7 separate regions of the Homo sapiens genome follow, and regions 1, 2, 3, 4, 5 and 7 are each linked to region 6. Evidence: promoter capture Hi-C in human tissues and cell types (Jung and others, 2019). All regions are on one chromosome and are shown on one strand. Each heading gives the region's core, a stretch centred on a gene start or on the middle of the fragment in contact. The rest is flanking DNA. Distances are from core to core; before and after follow the strand shown. Region 1 overlaps PIEZO2 (piezo type mechanosensitive ion channel component 2). Region 2 overlaps LOC107985173 (a long non-coding RNA gene). Region 3 has its middle 130 kb from the start of PIEZO2. Region 4 has its middle 150 kb from the start of PIEZO2. Region 5 overlaps PIEZO2 (piezo type mechanosensitive ion channel component 2). Region 6 holds the start of PIEZO2 (piezo type mechanosensitive ion channel component 2). Region 7 overlaps LOC107985173 (a long non-coding RNA gene).

Region 1 (2,700 bases), core at 30-2,529, 150 kb after region 6:
TGGAATAGAAAGTAGACATGTGTTCCTTCTCTTCATTTGTATTAGTTTGATACCAGTGAAATGGCCATTTTTATAAGTCAACATGGTTAGGTATTAGCAACTTCATGTACTTAACCTACAAGGTTGACTTCTGAGTTTATTTCGAAGTCCCAGCACATTCTTCCCAGCTCATAGGTGTTTGTATTTAATCTCATTTAGAATTTAGAAGAAAATTCCCAGTTTTATGTATCAATTTGCTTTTTATTTGTTCCACCTGGAGCATAAAATTGTGGGAAATTCTTTAAATATAAATACTTGCTTTCTAAGACAATTTTTCTAAATTTTTTCTAATGTAGTCCAAGTGCATGAACTGCAGAGTACAGTTGTCTCTTAGTATTCATGGGTGATTGCTTCCAGTATCCCCCAAGATGCTGAAATCCTTGGGTGCTCAAGTGTCTTATATAAAATGGCATAATATTTGCTTATAACCCATGCTCGTTCTCCCATATGTTTTAAATAATCTCTAGATTATTTATATTACAAAAAACTATATAAATACAATGCAAATGGTTGTCATACTATCTCTTTTAGAGAATAAGGACAAGAAAAGAAAAGGTCTGTGAATGTTCAGCACAGACTAAAACATCTTTCTAAAAAATATATTTTTCATCCATGGTTGGTTGAATCTACTGGATATGGAGTCCACAGATATGGAGGACCAACTGTGCTTTTACTAGGTTTTTCTAATTGAGCTGTAAATAAAAGATCAAAATATCAACTTGGAGGTGAGCTGAAGAAGACTTTGAAATACAGAACTCTTCAAACTCTACGCAGATTTGGTATCCAATACATTAACTTATCTATAAACTGATTTTTTTTTTTTTTTTTGCTGTTGCCTTTCCACTGAGGAGGCTCAGAGTTCTCCTTTAAAAATTTCTGACATTTTTTGGCGTGGATTGTTTCTTAAGTGGAAAATTTCAAACTTAGTTTACAAAAATTGGCACACTCCAAAGAACCATGGATCCTCCACATTTGCATGCCACATTTAAATCATTGAAAGCTACAGAATGGGAAATGTTGGCTAAGGAAATAGCCTCTGAATTACTTTCAGAAGTAGAGTAAATGAGGCATTAGATTTAAATGTTTGTTTAAATCCCAGTTCCTGACTGGAATCTACGCAGTGACAATCTTTCTTTTTTTTTTTTTTTTTTGCTGTATTTGAGAAAATATATCAGAAATAAATAAAATGTATGAATAAAACATGCTAAAATTTGTTTAAAAACTCTACTTCCTTTCCTTATTGTTAATTTTCTCAGTTAATATTAACATCAAATTTATTCTGTTGGCATTCTAATAATCACAGAAAAAATAGTATATAAGTGTATAGTTTGGTATTATGCCATTATAGCCATAGATTACTTATTTTGCAAATCTATTGTCTGGGTTACTTTTGGAAATAATTTTGGAGTTAGCATGAGTTATGAGTGGATATTTATTAGGTGACACATCTTTGAATTATTCAGATTTAAATATACTCATATTTCTTATATAAATGAAGGTGCCTAGTTAAAACACGTGGGCAACATAATACCCTCAATTATTTCTGTACACACCAAGTATTTCCAAATCCAAAAAAGAGAGATTTTTTTCTAGAAATTCCATGAATTAACTGGAGCAAGACTGTAATTAAGGAGTGTGTGTGTGTGTGTGTGTGTATGTGTATGTGTGTGTGTGTAAACAAATATCTTTTTAATCCATTTCTGTTGCTCTTCTTCATTTCATGAATTCCACGTGTTTTTTTGGTACCATTTCCCTTCAGGCTGAAGAACTTACATTAGCATTGCTTTGATAGCAGGTTAATTTTCCTTCCTCTGAGGATATTTTCTTTTTGCCTCATTCCTGAAGGACAGTTTCACAGGGTATAAAATTCTAAGTTTATAATTCTTTTCTTTTGCAGATTTAAAGATATTGTTCCACTGTATGCTAGTCTTCATAGTTTGTGATGAAAAATATGTGGTCTTTAAATTGTTTTCTCCCTACACATAATGTGACATTTTTCTCTGTTTTCATTCTTTAGTTATATTAGTTTTTCAACAGGTTAGTTATGTATCTGGGAGTGGTTTCTTTGAGCTCATCCTACTTAGGATTTGCTGAGCTTATTGAATGTGTACATTATGTCTTCACCAAATTTCTGGAATGTTAAAATACTGTATTATCCAAATTTTTTTCTGAACCAATCTTTCTGCTCTCCTTTGATAACTCTAATGATGCAAATGATAGACCTTTTTATTTTGTCCCTTAAGTCTCTGAGGTTTTATTAACTTTTTTCAATCTTTTGCTCTCTGTTCTTCAGATGGGGTAATTTCTATTAATTTCTTCATCATTACTAACTCATTTTTTGTCATTACCACTCTGCTCTTGAGACCATTAGGTGAATGTTTAATTTCAGATACAGTGTTGTATTTTTTCTGTTGTTAATATTTTTATTTGATTAATTTTTGTAGTTTGTATTTCTCTGCTGATAATGTTTATCTTTATATTTATTTCAACATGGTTTACTTTTACATCATGGAGCCTGGTTATAATGGTTGGTTTAAAATCATTTTCTAATAACTTCAACAGTTGTGTAATTACAGGGTTGGCATCTGTTGATTGTCTTTTCTATTGATAATTGATCAGATTTTCCTGGTTCTTTGTTTATCAAATAATTTGGGATTATAT
Region 2 (2,700 bases), core at 115-2,614, 240 kb before region 6:
TTATTTTTCACAGTTCGAGAGGCTAGAAGTCTGAGATTAGCAGGTGTTGGCAGGTTTGGTTTCTCCCGAGGCCGCTCTCCTCGGCTTTCAGACGTCTTTGCATGGTCTTTTCTCTGTGTGTGCATCGCTGATGTCTCTTCGTGTATCCAAATGTCCTCTTCTGGAGGAGGAACCAGCCTAATAGCTTCATTTTAACTTAATCACCCTTTTAAAGGCCCTATTTCCAAATAGGCACATTCTGAGGGATTGGGGTCCAGAGCTTCAATATACACACTTTGGGTAGATACAGTTCAGCCCTTGACAGACATTTGGGTTGTTTCCAGTGTTTGCTTATTACAAATAAAGTTTCTATAATTATATCTGTAAAAGTGTATATGTGGACATATGCTTACATTCCTCTTGCATAAGTATCTAGGAGTGAAATTGCTGCATCTAATGGTAGTTTGTTTATTTATTTATTTGAGACAGAGTCTTGCTCTTGTTGCCCAGGCTGGAGTGCAGTGGCTCTATCTCAGCTCACTGCAACCCCTGCCCCCTGTCCAAGCAATTCTCCTGCCTCAGCCTCCTGAGTATTTGGGATTATAAGTGCCTGCCACCGCACCCGGCTAATATTTGTATTTTTAGTAGAGATGGCGGTCTCACCAGGTTGGCCAGGCTGGTCTCGAACTCCTGACCTCAAGTGATCCACCCACCTCAGCCTCCCAAAGTGCTGGGATTACAGGCATGAGCCACCATGCCCAGCCAGTTTATGTTTTATTTTTATAAAACTGTCAAACCTTTTCAAAACAGTCCTTCCATTTTTGATTTTCATCAACACTGTGTGACCATTCCAGTTATCTTGACAACATTTGGCATTATCGGCCTTTAAAAATGTTAGACCTCCTGGTGTAGTGGTCCCTTCTTTATAGTTCTGCTGTGCACATCTGTGATAACTAATGATGTTGAGCATCTTTGTACATGTTGTGTGCCATATTTATATAATATTTTGATTAAGTATCTGCTAAAATATATATTTTTAATTGGATTTTACCATTTAAAAAGTTATTTGTATATTCTTTGTGTATTCCCAGATAGAAGTACTTAGTCATACTTAGCATATATTTCCCACAGTGTGTGGCTTACCTTTTCATTTTCTAAAGTGTCTTTTGAAGAGAAAGTTTTTTTAGTCTTGATGAAATTTATCAGTCCTTTTCTCTTAAAATTCATGCCTTGTTATTTTGCTTGCCACTCATCGAGGTTCTTGGTTCTGGAAGCTTATAATTTTCATTACATTTGGATAATTTTTAACCATCAGATTTTCAAGTGTGTTTTTATGCTCCATCTGGCACTCCAGTTACAGATATAGCATACCTTTTTACATTGTCCCTTTTTCTCTAGCTCCCTTGTGTTTATTTCTGATCATGTGTATTGCTGCGTTTTCTAATGTATTGCTCTTTCATTATACAATGTCTAATCTGCTGATAGTCCTGTCAAATGTATTTTTCTGCAGATGTTCAACCTGGGCTTTAAAATATCTTTTGTGTCCCTCCTTCACATGTTCATGCCTTCCTACACCTTCTTGAACATACAGAAGAAAGGCATAGTGACTGGAAATGTCCTTGTCTACAAATATTGTTATCGTTATCATTTCTGGGTCTATTTCTATTGGCTAATAATTTTCTTTATTATGGGTTATTTCCTGATGCTTTGCAGAACTGGTAATTTTTGACTGAATGCCCAACATTGTGATTTTATGTTGCCAATTCTGGGAATTTTTTTATTCTTATAAATATATATGAGTTACTTTCTAGAGCACAGTTACGTTCCGTGGAAACAGTCTGATTATTTTACAGTTTGCTCTTAAACTTTCTTAGGCAATAGCAGTACAGCCTGTAATGGAAGACTAATTCGGTGGCACTGCCAAGGTGAGGTCCTTCTAAGTCCTCTTCCTTTCACTCTGTGCACTGTGAGGTCTGTACCAATCTGGCTGTTGGGAGCAAACGGTCCTCCTGGCCACGTGTGAGATCCAGGAATTATTTCATTTTGCCTTTGCAATGCGTCTTCCCCAGGCTGTGGGTAGTGTTCTTTATAGCTGAAAGTTATTGATGCCCTCTATTACTTCATTGTTTTCCAAAGTGGAATTTTGTTTTGTTTTGTTTTTGTTTTATTTTATTCCAAAGTCCTGGGATTACAGGCGTGAGCCACCGCGCCCAGCCATATTATCATTATTTTTTATTTTATTTATTTATTTTTTTGTAGATGGAGTCTTGCTCTGTCGCCCAGGCTGGAATGCAGTAGCGCAATCTCGGCTCACTGCAAGCTCCGCCTCCCGGGTTCACACCATTCTCCTGCCTCAGCCTCCCGAGTAGCTGGGACTACAGGCGCCTGCCACCACGCCCAGCTAATTTGTTGTATTTTTTAGTAGAGATGGGGTTTCACTGCGTTAGCCAGGATGGTCTCAATCTCCTGACCTTGTGATCCACCCACCTTGGCCTCCCAAAGTGCTGGGATTACAGGTGTGAGCCACCACGCCTGGCCCAGATTATTTTTTTAAAAAGCAAGTAGTAGACATCCAACAGGAAAGCAGTTGAAAAATTTCAAAAGTTCCGAACTTTAATCAGAAACTTTTCAACTCTTGAGAGCTCCATGTGGCTCTATGCAATTAAATTTTTTTTTGGTGATTTTTCATATTGTCTATACTAAATTACTGCTTATTTCATC
Region 3 (2,700 bases), core at 107-2,606, 130 kb before region 6:
TCTGACAGTTCTGGAGGCTGGAAGTCTGAGACCAGAGTACCTGCATGGTGGGTTCTGTGTGGCCCTTTTCCGAGTTGCAGGTGGCTGCCCTGTCCCAGTGTCCTCACATGGTGGAGAGCGGAGTGAAGCAAGCTCTCTCAGGATGCTTATAAGGGCACTGATCCCATTCATGGGGGCTCAGCTCACATGACCTCAGCTAATCCTAATCACCTTCCAAAGACCTCACCTCCAGAAGGTGTAGGGTTTCAATGTATAGATGTTGCAGTCACGAACATTCAGCCAATAGCAGCAATGTTCTATTTCATGTCAGAATTGGATGCTTAAGAGATGAAGCAGGGCGCTGAGAGGTACTAGAAGAAAGATCCCACCTTTGGGATGGGAGTTAATGGGACCTTGTCCAGAAAACCAGCAGCTTTGGAAATTCTTCCCCGAGTCTCCAAAGCTGAGTCTGGCTTCTCCCCTTGGGTCCCCCAACACCCTCTGACCACCTCTATCAGAGCATGTGTCTCCCTCCATCAGAACTGTTTACTTAGCTCTCCTCAGTTGCACTGTTGGTTCCTCGAGGAAGGGAAAGGATTTTGCCTGTTCATTTTAGTATCCCCAGCACCTCACCTAAGGAAAAAAATTAACAGGTTACTGCTGAGGGAGTGAGTGAATGGAATAAAGCAATCAATCAAAACTTCTCTCAGCTGACTGTACCGGTTCAGGACCCAGATTCACCCCAGCTGGGGAGATGGGCCAGGAAGGAATTTGGGTGGGCTGGCTATTAGGGTACACATTAGGAATTAGAGGCCTCAGCCTGCTGTTCAGGCAGGAATCCCACAGGAATATGGACCACGTGAGAACCACATCTCACCAAGTGTGTGAGAGTGTTTGCAAGGAGGGGGAGCTCAAAGATAGCTGCATTGTTCTGGGGTGACCAGAGATCCTCCTCAATACCCTCACCCATCCTTCCCTCTATGTAAGACCCCGCACTTCCTCTGCAGATGCAGTTTTAAGACCTCTTTCCTAAAATTGCTCCCACCCTCTGGAAGGCCACTCCTAAGTCACTCCCACAAGGGAAGTGTCCAGCACCACTGGGGACTGGGAATGTGCTGGTATCAAGGGTGTGGAGGCAAGGATGATGGAGTAGGTAGAGGGTGAAGAGGACCGTCTGCAAATCCACCTGAAGGCTGCAGGAATGGGGGAAAGCCAGGAACCGAAAGGGCCCAAGCCTCAAGGCTTTTCATACTCAAGAAAGTCAGGCAGAAAGCATCTGCGTGGGGGTGGGGAAGCAGCCATGAGAGTGGCCAGGGGCGACTGAGACCCTGCTCACTGGCCCCCACCCTGCTCTTCCATCACGGCGACCCTGGAACAGAGTCGCAGGGCAGCTGAAACGTTGCTGTGACAGTCATAGAGAGGAGCATGGATGCCTTTATTTTCATTAAGTTCTGTGCTTCTTCTTTATAGCTGACTTCCCCCAAAACAGCACATGAATAAAGAAAGTGCCCAGTGCAGCCAATTATACACGTCTCTCTCACTAGATTCTGCCAGTTTGGTTTTCCTGGACATTAAGAAAAGCTAAGAAATCTGGATGGTAGCTTTCCCAAGATAGCACAGCCCTTCTGATATAGTTTGGATATTTGTCCCCACCCAAATCTCATGTTGAATTGTGATCCCCAGTGCTGGAGGTAGGGCTTGGTGGGAGGTGTTTGGATCATGGGGCAGATCCCTCATGGCTTGGTGCTGTCTTCACGACAGTGAGTGCCTTCTCACCAGATCTGGTCATTTAAAAGTGTGTGGTGCCTCCCTCCCAGTCTCTCACTTGCTTCTGCTTTCATCATGTAACACGCCTGCTCCCGCTTCATCTTCCGCCATGATTGCAAGCTTCCTGAGGCCTCCCTAGAAACCAGGCAGATGCCAATGTCACGCTTCCTGTAAAATCTGAAAAGCCATGAGCCAATTAAACCTCTTTTCTTTATAAATTACCCAGTCTCAGGTGTTTCTTTCCAGCAATGTAAGAATGGCCTAATCAGAGCATCTCCCTCCCTGTCTTCGTACAATTAATGGAGTTCTGCCTACAAGATGCTTCAATAAGAGACTTGGCCCCAGTTCCAGGAGAGGAAAGCCCAAGCCTCTCAGCTGCTGCAGAGATGTGGGCTGTATGCCAAGGAAGCTTGACCTGACCTTGGTTCCTGGAAGGCATTGGCAGTCAAGTGGAGCTGATGATGCCTGCACTCTGCGGTCCAAGGGTCTGTGGGCTGCTTAACCGCAGGAGGTCACAGGGGCCAAGAAGAGAGAGAAAATGAGCTGGGAGTTACTATGCAGGTAAGGAGTCTGCATGCTGGCTAAAGTATTCAAAGAGAATTATGGGCACAGATATTGCCCAAGGAGTCCAGCACACCAAAGTGAGGAAGGAAGGGATCTCCTTTTGAGAGCTTTTTATTTTGTCATTCATAGAGGGCATGATGACTCTTTCTGAAATTTTTGCTCAAGGGCCAAGAATTAGAACGTGCACCACTGTGAGCAGGTGGCTCTGAGATAACATTCATTGAAAGGCAACATTCCTGGGAATAATCAGATTAACTTGGGGTACCAGGCACAGTACCACATAACAACATTATTAAGAAAAAAATGTAGCTTGACTTTTGCCTCCCCAGTTGTTCAAAGCTTTCTTCTATCTGGACTCCTTCTCCACCTGCTGGCTTTACTCTTACCTTT
Region 4 (2,700 bases), core at 121-2,620, 150 kb before region 6:
TGGACTTTGGGGAAAGGGTGGGGGTGATTAGGGGTAAAAGACTACACATTGGGTACAGTGTACACTGCTTGGGTGATGATAGATGCACCAAAATCTCAGAAATCAGCACTAAAGAACATATTCATGTAATCAAACACCACCTGTTCCCCAAAAACCTATTAGGAAAAATTAAAAAGTTTTTTAAAAAATGTAACTGCCATGCTTCAAAACACCATCAGGTAAAGCAAAATGTCCTTAGGAGCCATGTAAAGGTTTTCCTGGATTATCTTTTCGGCAGATATGGCAGCAATTGTATACCTTATGAACTATAGTTGGAGAAAAACATTTTCTCAAGCAACTATTTTTTCAGGGCTCCAATGAGTTAAATCATGTACATAGGTTAAAAATGATGATCTCCAGTAGGAAGTATAGATAAGTTGTTTGGTCCATACCATACTTCATCTTTGGGAGAATATGTTCCTCCTTTTGTCTTCTAATTTTCTGTTTGGATTTTGGAGCTCTGGATTGAGCTAATTTTATTCCAAATTCAGGTGCTTCTTTGAGACTTAATGTAGATTCCTTTTCTTGTTCAGATACGTTTAGAGCAGCCATTTTTGCTACCTTATCAGCTAACTTGTTTCTTTTATTTTCTGCAGTATCTGATTTGGAATGACTCGGAATTTTAATAATGGCCAGTGAATTTTAATATGGCTTCTAGTGATGGTGAAATAAGGTGTTCATTTTTTATGGACTGACCACAAGAAGTTAAAAAAAACCTCTTCGTTTCCATAGCATTCCAAAATCATGAGCTCCTCTGAAAGCATATCTGCCATCTATATGAATATTTGTAGTTGCCAACTGGTAGGCTCTGATTAATGTTATCAATTCTGCTTGATAAGCTGAGGTGGCTTCTGGAAGGTAAGCACTTTCTTTAGTTAAAGATAATATAGCATAATCCGAAAAGTAAGTCCCAGGTTCATCTTTTAAGTAAGAGTAAGGCAAGCTTCTTGTAGGTCTGTTCTAGGAGAGAGAACCTGGTGAGTTGAGATTATGCAATTGTGTGGTATCTCATCTGAAGGCAGAGACAGAGGAGCAGGGGGTTTAGATTTTTGCACCTAGATATTGTAATATGAGCTACAGAAAGAAAAAGAACTTCCTAAGAAGCTAATCTGCTGACAGAATAATGTTGAGTGTGCTATGAATTTAGAAATACTTGCAAAGAATTTGGCATGAAAACCAAGAGGGGAGATCCATCACTCTTTCTTCGGTTGCTCTTACTAACAGAGCAGTGGCAGTTATTGCCTTCATGCAAGGTGGCAATCCTTTAGCCACAAGGTGTAGTTGCTGACTAGTATCCTACAGGCCTATTTTGGTCTCCATGTTTTTGTTTCAGAATGTTTAAGGCGTTTCCTTGATTTTCATGAACAAACAATGAAAATGGAATATTATAATTTGGATATCCCAAAGATGCAGCATCTATAAAGTTCTTTTTAAATTTCTTCCAATATTGACTGATTTTCCTCTGTCCATTCCAAGGGGCCTGGCTTGTCTTGTTTTATAAAAGTATAGAAAGTTTTAGTTTAAAAAAAAGTTTGGAATCCAATTTCAACAGTATTCTGCCAGTCCCCCAAATCCTCTGAGTTGTTTCTTACTTTTGGGAGTAAGGAATGCCAAGATTTCTTTTATCCTATCCAGGTGGATAAAAATATCTTCCTTTGATGTTAGATTACTCAAAAATCTTACTTGTTTTTGACAAAAGTGAATGTTTTTTTTTTTGAGACCTTGTGTTTCTTTAAGGCTAATTGTAGTAATAAGTTAATCCCATCTTCCATGGAGGCTTGCCTACCCTCTGAACAGACAAGCAAATTATCTACACATTGCATTAAAATATATTTCTTAATATAGTCAATATCTGAGAGATCTGCTTTTAATATTTGTGTAAAGTAAGTTGAGCTCTCAGTGTATCCCTGAGGCATGACTGTCCATACGTATTGTCTGTCTTCCTAAGTGAAGGTGAAGATAAATTGAATGTCTTGATCCACGTAAATACTAAAGAATGCACTACATAGGCCTATTATAGTAAAGAACTCACTTTTGGTAAGGATGGTAATCAAAGTTATATGGAGGTTTGGCACTACTAGATGATGAGAAATGTCCATGTTGTTAATTTCTCTCAGATCCTCTACAAACATCTATTCTCTATCACTTGGTTTTCTTATGGGAAAGATTGCAGTATTACATGGGCTTGTACAGGGAATAATCAGATCTCTTTTTACATAGTCTAGAATTATAGACTTAGTCTATAATAATTACATTCTAATTATAGGTCTTATTCTTTCTAAAGCTTCTGGTTTTAGAGTCTTGTTTAAGGTTTGGAAGGGGTTTTAATGAGTCTATTTGAATTTTGATTGAGGTAAGTTAGATAGTTTTTCCAATATCTGTGGAAGACTTTGACCACAGTTGATCAGGTTCTGTCTTTAGCAGTTTTTGTAATTCTTCATCATTCAATAATTAAATGTCCTCTATGGCAATATAAATTGCAATTTTTGAATTAAGAGGATCAGATTCTGAAAAATTTATTGTATCTAATAATTCCATTTTGTCTTCTAATTCTCAGCACATTTTCCCCTTTTGGGAAAAGAATAAATTTTTTCCTATCTAATGGATTGAAGCTGAGGGAAATAAGAGAAAAACATGGGTATCTTGTAAAGAACTAGGCTG
Region 5 (2,700 bases), core at 123-2,622, 170 kb after region 6:
AGTGATGCCTGTAATCGCATTGGCTCATCAGGTGTTGTAGATTTTTTTGGTTTAGTTTTATGTGTAGCATTTAAAATTAATACATTCTTGAAAAAGGATAAAAGAGAAGAACAAACAAACTTCAGAGCTTTGCAAACTAATTTAGTCCAAGATTGACACAGACCAGGTTTTCAGCCCAGAGCACTTTTTAATGATCAAGTTATATAAACTGAAAATACTGTTAGTGTGGGTAATGGAAACACTGACTTTTAATTTAGAGTTGACTTCACTTCACTAATGTTATTGTTTCTCAAGCATTTAGAGTTATGATTATACCATCAGAGATGTAAACACAACTCAGTCATTTCGATATCCCAAATTTGAAGTTTATCCTTTTTTGGCATCTGCATAGATAACATAGCAAAAGTTCAAATAAAAAGACAAAACCTGTCTTGGTCATCAGTGTTGTACATTTTGAATGTTTTTTGTATGTTCAAGACATTGGTAAATTAAAATTAAAACCCAGACAAGTCGATCATATTCAAGTAGTATTCAAATTCAAGACCACCAAGCGCTCATTTATAGGTGTTAAATTTTGTTTTCCTAACAACTTCTTTCCCCCATTTAAAATGCATACCCTCACCCTCATTATCGCAAAAGGTCCCGGCATCTCTTAGGAATCTGACATAAGTTTTGGTGGGACAACAGTAGCATTTATAAATATTGAGTCATTGAAAGTTCTCGTTCCTCCAGAGTCCTGTGAATATTAACTGGCAGTAATAAAGATTTTTTCAAACCACCCTATTTAGATTTTGACTAGTTGGCAGGTCTGTTAAAGGTGCCGTTGTGCAGAGCTGAAACTTAACAACACTCCCTTCTGCCTTTTTTTTTTCCCCTCATTTCCAGAACAGTGTTCTTATAGGTAAGTGAGGAGTCCATGGGGGCAGGGGACACCTATGTAAATTTTGCTCAAACATATGTTGTGCCGCTTACTAAAATATTTTCATTCCACCAAAACTATGCTACTTAAATAAATGTAAACCCGGTTTCAATTATGTCATTACAGATTACATAGACGTAGTTTGTTTGACTCCGTGTTAGATGTGTGGCGATGTTAGTGAAATTTGAAGGCCAGTCTGGATTCTTGTGCTGTGCTTAAAGCATGCTATTCATTGAAAGAAACTTTTGAGTTAGAAACTATATAGGGAAAATTTGTGATGATAATATCTCCTGTTTATAGAGCATCTATGAACCATGAGACCCTAGGGATTATTCTATTCCTTTTTCAATTAATGACTCCTTCCTTTCTTGTTCCAGGTGAGCTTTGCTGTTCTTTAAGTTAGGCACTCTCTGTATCCAAGCATTGTCCTATTCATTCTCTAAACAAGTCCTCAGGGTGGACAGGGCTGTGCAGCTGGACCCCTGTGCTCTGTGTGCAGGCCCCAGCCTGAGGAGGAGCTGAGCAGGAGATTCCTTCGTCAGGCTCCATCCAGCGGGAAGCAGCGAAATCCTCTGATTTACATCAAGAGGCTGGTCTCCTGGCCAAACCTTGCCACGGAGGGCTATGCCTTTGTGTAGTCTCTTTTCTCCAAGAGGGTGCCCTTTTTCTGTATAAACGCAGTGCCCAACCTGCAGATAGTGCTGAGGTAGGGATTGCAATGAAGAAACGGGCTCTAGAGGGCAAATGAGTTGCATGAAACCATTGCATGTCTCAGCTGGAGTCTGAGCACGGATCTGTCTGGCTTTCCATTCTTCCCCCATCTTTACGGAGCTCTTTATTCATCGTGTGTGTAAGATTGTTTCCTCCACTGTGGCTCCTAGGACTTTGGATAAGTCTATTTTCAAAGGGCTAAAATTAGCGTTTCTGATACTTAGTCCATGACTTTCCCTTGCTTGGATATTTGTCCTTATAATTAACTGAATATTTTCTTTGCTTCCTTCAATGGCAGCATTCCTGGTTGGATTCAGCTTCCCCCAAAGGTTAGCCCCCTCAGATGCATTGCTCTTTCCCCCTGTGGGAGGAGGGGCATCTAGAGTTTCATCTTTTCTCTTTTTACAAGCACATGAAACTTGGTCCAGAAGCCCACCAACCAAGAAATTAGGATGGGCCTCAGTAATGTTTTTTCCTGACATGCTTCTATCCTTGAAACACACAAGGCTCCCAGTGCCAAGAATCAAGGTATCAAGCGTCGGCCTACGACAAGAAGACTGAGGGACAGACCCAGCCTGGCAGTTTATCCTCCCATCCCGACGACTGTGGGGAGGACTACAGAGTGAGCCACTGCTGTGTATACTCTGCTTGCCAGTACAAGTGCTGACTCATCCCTTGGCACACAAAGCTGTAAACTTCACCCCATGCTTCGTTAGTTGTGCTAATTGGAGATGGACCCTAGATCTGCAGAATCACCTGGTGGATCCATCCTCATACAAATAATTCCATTCTCACACAAATGAAATTCTTGATGTTAATTTTTCATATTTGAGACAGTACCCTGGAGAAAAGAGCTAATAAGTACGAAATGGGAGACAAAATATATAAAAGCAAACTCACACCCTGCATGTTCTGAGTCATTTTTTGAAACCACTCTTGGCTGCCTGCTTTCTTCTGATAGCTGATCAGTGAGGAGGCTTGGGTTCCTCACCTTGCCCCGTCCCCTTCTCTTTCCATTCCCTAACTCATTCAGGCACAACACACAGCCTTCTTCTCTCCTCGGGCCAGCT
Region 6 (2,700 bases), core at 68-2,567:
GCTACACAAACCATTTCTTGATAGCATTTCTTGGTGACTGGATGCTAATTTAAGTTCTATCGTCTCCTGTAGGTCTGCTGTTGAGCTCATGACTACGCCCGGGTTTAGGTGCTATCTAAGCTTCTTGAGGATGGCAGAGCACATGGGTGGTTTAAGTTTCAGGGTGTCTTCACCATATGCCAACTGTCTTGAGTCTTCATTCAAAAAGCAATGGTTCATAGTTTTTCTGTAATTCTCAGAGAATTCGTGAAGGCACCTGAGCTCAAACCACAAGCTTACCCTGTCTCAAAAAAGGGATGTCCACAAAAGCGTTTCAAATGGCTAAAAAGACGGGGGTTTGCCTGTTTTTCATCAGCTCACTGCTCTATCCCCTCCAACTAATGCAAGCCAGGAATGTAGGTGCGGAAGGGAAGCCAGGTCCTTCCCAGTGTGTCCTCCTGATGGAATGCCAGTCCTGAACAGTCCTCTCTACAGATGCTAACAGCCTCTTCCTCCATGTCCGGAAAGACCCCTACTGTGCTCTAGCAAATCTCCTCCACTCTCGGATAACAGTTAAATAAAAGACCCAGGCACACTGCAGTCTCCCAGCTAGAGCCAGATTTCTCTAGATCTTGCCTAGAACAGGCAAAAAGCAGTGCACTAGGAGAAAGGGAGAATATTCTCAGTGCCAACGCTCTCTTTCCCCAGAGCCACGACAAGCAAGGAGCAAAACTGAGGTGAAAACGGAGAGTTCCCCCAAATGCACAAAGTGGGTGCATTATCTGTTGGGGAAGACCCGGGATTTCCCAGAGTCTATTCAGAATGGCAAGTTCTTGCTATGTGAAATATGGGCAGGGTCAACGGTGTAGATGAATTCAGCTCTATTCTTCTTAATGCCAGTGTGCACCTGTGGACCCAGCAGAAGTCGGGGTCGCACAGGACTCTCCAAGCCCCTGGCTTCTCTCCTGCCGGGCCTGTGCGTTTCCCTCGGACCTTAAACGGTTCCCTGGGTTTGGGCAAGCTCAGGGCCCGGCCGGGTGGACTGGATGCCAGGGTGCACCACCGGAATGACAGAACCACGCAGAGCCGCGGGGCTGCGGGAGCCAGTGGGGCAGGAGTGCCCGCGGAGGGCGAGCCAAGGCGCGCAGCCCACTGGCAGGCCAGGCCGGGTCTCTCCCAGGCGCGGGAGCCGCGGGTGGGGGCTTGCCCTCCGCGCCGGTGCAAGGCTCTCACTTCCCCAGCCGCTCAGGGGCGGGCTCCGCGCGCGCAGGCCCCGGAGCCGCCATCCCATTGGCCGGGGGACACGCCCGTCCCCGAGTGAGGGCTTCGAAAGTTTCATTGAAGGTGGAGAAGCGCGCGCCGCCGGGGAGCCCCGGCTGCGCCGCGAGGGCGAGGCTGCAAGGCGGCAGGCGGTGGTCGCGCTGGGCGACGGGACGGCGCTGGTTTTTCTCTTGAGTTTTAAATTGAGGCGGTGGAGGAGGGAGTGGGAGACCCACTCACCCGATATGCGCTCTGGTCTCCATTTCTCCCCACGCTCGCGCCGTTCCTTCGAGTGAGGGAGGGACTCGCAGCGCCGCCCGCGCACCGGACCCACAAGGCGAGCCCCGTGGTGGCGGGGATGGTTCTGCGCGCCTGGCAGCTCCCACCCCGGTCTCTCCGGCCCGAAGCTGGGGGGCGCAGGGGCTGAGCTGCGCTGCCTCTCGGGGATCCGCCGCGGGCCGCCTGGGGGCTGGAGGGCGAGACCCGGAGCCCGCCGGGCAGCTCCGAGAGCCGGGGCCGAGGCCAGAGCGCGGCAGCCTGCGTGGGCAGCGGAGACGAGGCCGGGCAAAGGAGACGCGGTGGCTTCAGAGGGGCTTCCAAGTAGAAAACTCCCCGGCCGCCCCCAAACGACGCCCCGGGAGCCAGGCGGGAGCACAGCACGCCCTTCTTGCCCCCTTTGCTCGCCGCGCCGCCTCCCAGGACCCTCCCAAAGCGTCCCTCTCCAAGGCCCCGGCATCAGCTACCCCTGAAGAAGCCGCCGCCGCTGCCGGATCCAGGATTCACACTAAATGGGCCGGCCGCAGGGGGCCGGGCGCCGGGCTAGGTGGCCGCCAAGAGCCTGGTGAGGGGCTACCCAGAGCCCGGTGGGCGAGGGGCGGCCAAGAGCCCCGGGAGCGTGCCCTCGGGGCGGAGAGCGTCGCGGCCCGCGCCGAGGCGATGCTCGGGTGGCTGCGAGCTGCCGGCGGCGAGAGGCCATAGACGGGCATGGGCCTTGCGTCCCACCACCCCTAGGGACCCTCGAGCCTCGCCCCTCTGCTCCGACTCGCCGGACCGACGCGATGGCCTCAGAAGTGGTGTGCGGGCTCATCTTCAGGCTGCTGCTGCCCATCTGCCTGGCAGTAGGTGAGTCTGGTCCGCTTTCCGAGGGCACTTGAGGAGGACGAGGGGGGCGCCTGGGTGGGGGACTTCTTAACAAAGTGAAGGGCTCTGGTGCTCTGGGGTTCGATTCGGGAGGCCAGCGGCGTCAGACGCGCGCTGTCCCTGGTGCACAGCCTGGCTCTCTCACTTCCCACTCTGGGGCGCGCGATCGGGGTATCTCTTAACAGGATGCTCGGGACGGGCATGTGCTGGAAACTGTTTATGTTGAATTTAGTTACACGTGGATTTTCTTTCGTGGAGTACTGACTTGTGTACTAAGGATGGCCATTGCTGTGGCTGGAAGGCGGATGCGTCCCCATCGTA
Region 7 (2,700 bases), core at 37-2,536, 220 kb before region 6:
AAGAGGGTATATTTTATGGAACTGGACAGCTTTCAGAATCACAAGCAACCTCTTCAAAATGTGATCTACTGAAACGTGCTTGAAAGAGAGAATAGGAGTGAGGCGGGCAAAGGAAGCAGAAGCCATTGTGAACTGCCCTAGAGAAACCTTGGGCATCTTTTTGTTGGGCAAAGTGGTAGAGGCTGAAACGGGGAATAGCATGTAACATTTTATTTGACTGAAATAAACAGCTGTTTGTTTTTTTTTTCTTTCATATGTAAGATAGACAAAAGGTGTTTGACAGATAAGGATTGGGGCAATGTTGGTATGAGTTCAGCTTTTTAGTTTGTTCTTTAAAAGTGGCCATCAAGATGTGGGTGTAAGGTATTTCACAGTGATTTGCATTCATTCTCATTGCTGTCACCATCAAGGCCCAGTTACTCAATATCCAAGTTTGTTTTTGTTGTAATTCAAACAAAATAAATACAAGTAGCAGGGCTTTCCATCCTTCCTGGGAATATTGTGTGGGTGCATCTCAGTGAATGCCAACTGCTTTCAAATAAAATGTGCCATCTGAAGGAGCACAGTTTCCACTCCAGACCTGCATGTACAAGACGCAAAACAAGGCACTAGCTGGCTTAGGGGAGTCATGCCTGAGAGAACGAGTTGTATATAAAACTCTGCTGAGGCTGAAAATAGCACAGATATGAAAGACAGAAGCAAAAGATATCGGGTGTCCTAAAGTGCCAGATGCCCAGGTCACTTAAAAGTGGATGACTCAGAGTCACACAGAGTAGCAGCATGCTGGGATCTTTGAGGAAAGCTGACCAACCACAGAGAAGGAAAGGCAAAGTGATTCCGCAGAGAATTGAACCAAATACAAATTTGCCTTTGTTTTTCATCCCACAGAATTTCCTCTTCACCCATGAGGTTTATAGCTATTTTCACATGACCATCCACTGAAAGGAAAATAAATCTGATCCTGTCCCATCTACTCGAAATGCCTTGTCCTTAGGCCACTCAGCTTGATCCTCGTAATAAAATCACATAGAATGGAATACATTTTAAGGCAAAAATGTGTATGGCTAATTAGGATATTTATGTATTGATAAGATAAAGATAGATGAGATGCTGGGAGAATAAAATAATTATAAATCTTACAACATCATGTCAAAGTATATGGTATATGGTCAAAGTATATGGTATAAAACTACAAAACTGCTAGAAAAAAATTACAAAATTATGAGAGAACTTGCACCTCTTTCAATCATGGGTAGAAAAGGCAGCAAAAAAGTTAATGGGAATTTAGAAGATTTAGGCAACATAATAATGTTGATTTGGTACATGTATAAGCCTGAAACTAACAGATGATATAAAACCTTATGGATGCCACTGAACTGTGAAATGTACACATAAAAATGCTTAACATAGCACATTTTATTATATATATCTATATATTTTATCACTGTAGGGGATAAAAAAATATTTTTTTCTCAGTGATTGCTAGGTTTATGCCTGAGGCCTCCCTAATAACGGAAAGATTAACAAGAGATAAACACACAAATTTGTTTAATAAAAGTTTCATTGGATATAGGAACCTTCACAAGAAAATGAAGATCCAAAGAAACAGGTAAACCTGTATGCTTTTACAGGTTTACAGGGTGGCCGGCGCCTGCCCTCAGAATGTTTGGAAACTAAGAAACATACATAAAATAATTCAAAAAAAATTTAAAAAAAAAGGGAAAAAAGGAAAAAGAAATCACAAGAAATATTAGAAAATATTTAGAAGAAAATGTAAATTCCAAGGGAATATTTGTGAAATATACATAAATCATTCAATAGAGGGAATTTTATAGCCTTAAAATACATGCACGAAGAAATAAATCTTTCCTGGATTTCTTTTATTCCTGCAAAATTCTGGTTCCCTGAACCACTGAAATGGATATAATATGAAGCTAGAGAATGTTTTCCTTTCCCCCCAAATATTTTACTTTTTGCACGTCTTGAGTATTAAACTGCGGTTATTTGTCTTCTTTTAGTTGGAACTAATTCCCTTCCATCTAAAGGAAAACAAAAGTGTTTTTTTAATTAAAAAATTTTAATTTATTTTTCTTCTTTAATGGAGACTAAGTAGAAATCCAAGACAAAAGTTCTTCTATTTCCCTGAGTGGGAAGAAGTTTGCATGCCCGGGTGGGGCCTGGGAAACTGGAAAGACAGACTGAATAACCTTGAGATCACCTGAGGGATTTAGAGAGTTATCTTCATAGGTGTTTACATTTCAAGGAGGTGAAACTGGCCGGTCCCAGCACTTTGGATGGCTGAGGCGGGTGGATCACTTGAGGTCAGGAGTTCGAGACCAGCCTGGCCTACATGGTGAAACCCCTTCTCTACTAAAAATACAAAAAAATCAGCTGGGTGTGGTGGTGCGTGCCTGTAATCCTAGCTACTCGGGTGGCTGAGACAGGAGAATTGCTTGAACGTGGGAGGCGGAGGTTGCAGTGAGCCAAGATTGAGCCACTGAACTCCAGCCTAGGCAACAGGACAGAGCAAGATTGTCTCAAAAAAACAAAAAACAAAACTAAAGGGGTGAAACTGAATTGGAAGCACATTTTATCTTTCCCCTGGAGACATTTATTAACATTCCGAAGGGAGACGAGGAACCTTCTCCCTATACCATAGGGGGTGTGCATATTTTCTGCTTGTATATGTGTGGAAAAATG

Evidence for each region. The method cuts DNA at HindIII sites, captures the fragments that hold promoters and counts their contacts. A contact is called where the count stands out against the background at its distance.
Region 1: a contact is called between a fragment that was not itself captured here and the fragment with the promoter of PIEZO2 in region 6, in 4 of the 25 tissues and cell types used here (bladder, liver, lymphoblastoid cells and 1 more).
Region 2: a fragment that was not itself captured here is called in contact with the fragment with the promoter of PIEZO2 in region 6 in 3 of the 25 tissues and cell types used here (mesendoderm cells, spleen and thymus).
Region 3: a fragment that was not itself captured here is called in contact with the fragment with the promoter of PIEZO2 in region 6 in 2 of the 25 tissues and cell types used here (H1 embryonic stem cells and aorta).
Region 4: a contact is called between a fragment that was not itself captured here and the fragment with the promoter of PIEZO2 in region 6, in 2 of the 25 tissues and cell types used here (IMR-90 fibroblasts and aorta).
Region 5: a contact is called between a fragment that was not itself captured here and the fragment with the promoter of PIEZO2 in region 6, in 2 of the 25 tissues and cell types used here (mesenchymal stem cells and neural progenitor cells).
Region 7: a fragment that was not itself captured here is called in contact with the fragment with the promoter of PIEZO2 in region 6 in 2 of the 25 tissues and cell types used here (H1 embryonic stem cells and lymphoblastoid cells).

The regions. Positions count from the first base shown.
Region 1 is chr18:10,997,352-11,000,051 of GRCh38, reverse strand. The region is part of intron 2 of PIEZO2 (piezo type mechanosensitive ion channel component 2); the gene reads left to right. Among named protein-coding and RNA genes, the nearest start is that of PIEZO2, 150 kb to the left of the region's middle. The HindIII fragment of the contact is 4,541 bases long and covers 1-2,700 here.
Region 2 is chr18:11,384,214-11,386,913 of GRCh38, reverse strand. All of the region lies in intron 1 of LOC107985173 (a long non-coding RNA gene), which reads left to right. The region is part of intron 1 of LOC124904250 (a long non-coding RNA gene); the gene reads left to right. Among named protein-coding and RNA genes, the nearest start is that of LINC01928, 69 kb to the left of the region's middle. The HindIII fragment of the contact is 8,830 bases long and covers 1-2,700 here.
Region 3 is chr18:11,279,145-11,281,844 of GRCh38, reverse strand. No RefSeq gene overlaps it. Among named protein-coding and RNA genes, the nearest start is that of PIEZO2, 130 kb to the right of the region's middle. The HindIII fragment of the contact is 6,382 bases long and covers 1-2,700 here.
Region 4 is chr18:11,295,962-11,298,661 of GRCh38, reverse strand. No RefSeq gene overlaps it. Among named protein-coding and RNA genes, the nearest start is that of PIEZO2, 150 kb to the right of the region's middle. The HindIII fragment of the contact is 3,450 bases long and covers 1-2,700 here.
Region 5 is chr18:10,973,651-10,976,350 of GRCh38, reverse strand. The region is part of intron 3 of PIEZO2 (piezo type mechanosensitive ion channel component 2); the gene reads left to right. Among named protein-coding and RNA genes, the nearest start is that of PIEZO2, 170 kb to the left of the region's middle. The HindIII fragment of the contact is 6,453 bases long and covers 1-2,700 here.
Region 6 is chr18:11,148,186-11,150,885 of GRCh38, reverse strand. PIEZO2 (piezo type mechanosensitive ion channel component 2) reads left to right here and starts at 1,317. Exons shown (of 56, transcript NM_001378183.1): 1 at 1,317-2,361. The coding sequence starts at 2,298. It overlaps LOC124904249 (a long non-coding RNA gene), which reads left to right and starts at 2,370. Exons shown (of 2, transcript XR_007066288.1): 1 at 2,370-2,700. RefSeq lists silencers at 965-1,414, 1,655-1,934, 1,955-2,134, 2,145-2,214 and an enhancer at 1,908-2,700. The HindIII fragment of the contact is 6,242 bases long and covers 1-2,700 here.
Region 7 is chr18:11,364,658-11,367,357 of GRCh38, reverse strand. LOC107985173 (a long non-coding RNA gene) reads left to right here. Exons shown (of 3, transcript XR_007066289.1): 3 at 1-253. Among named protein-coding and RNA genes, the nearest start is that of LINC01928, 88 kb to the left of the region's middle. The HindIII fragment of the contact is 7,204 bases long and covers 1-2,700 here.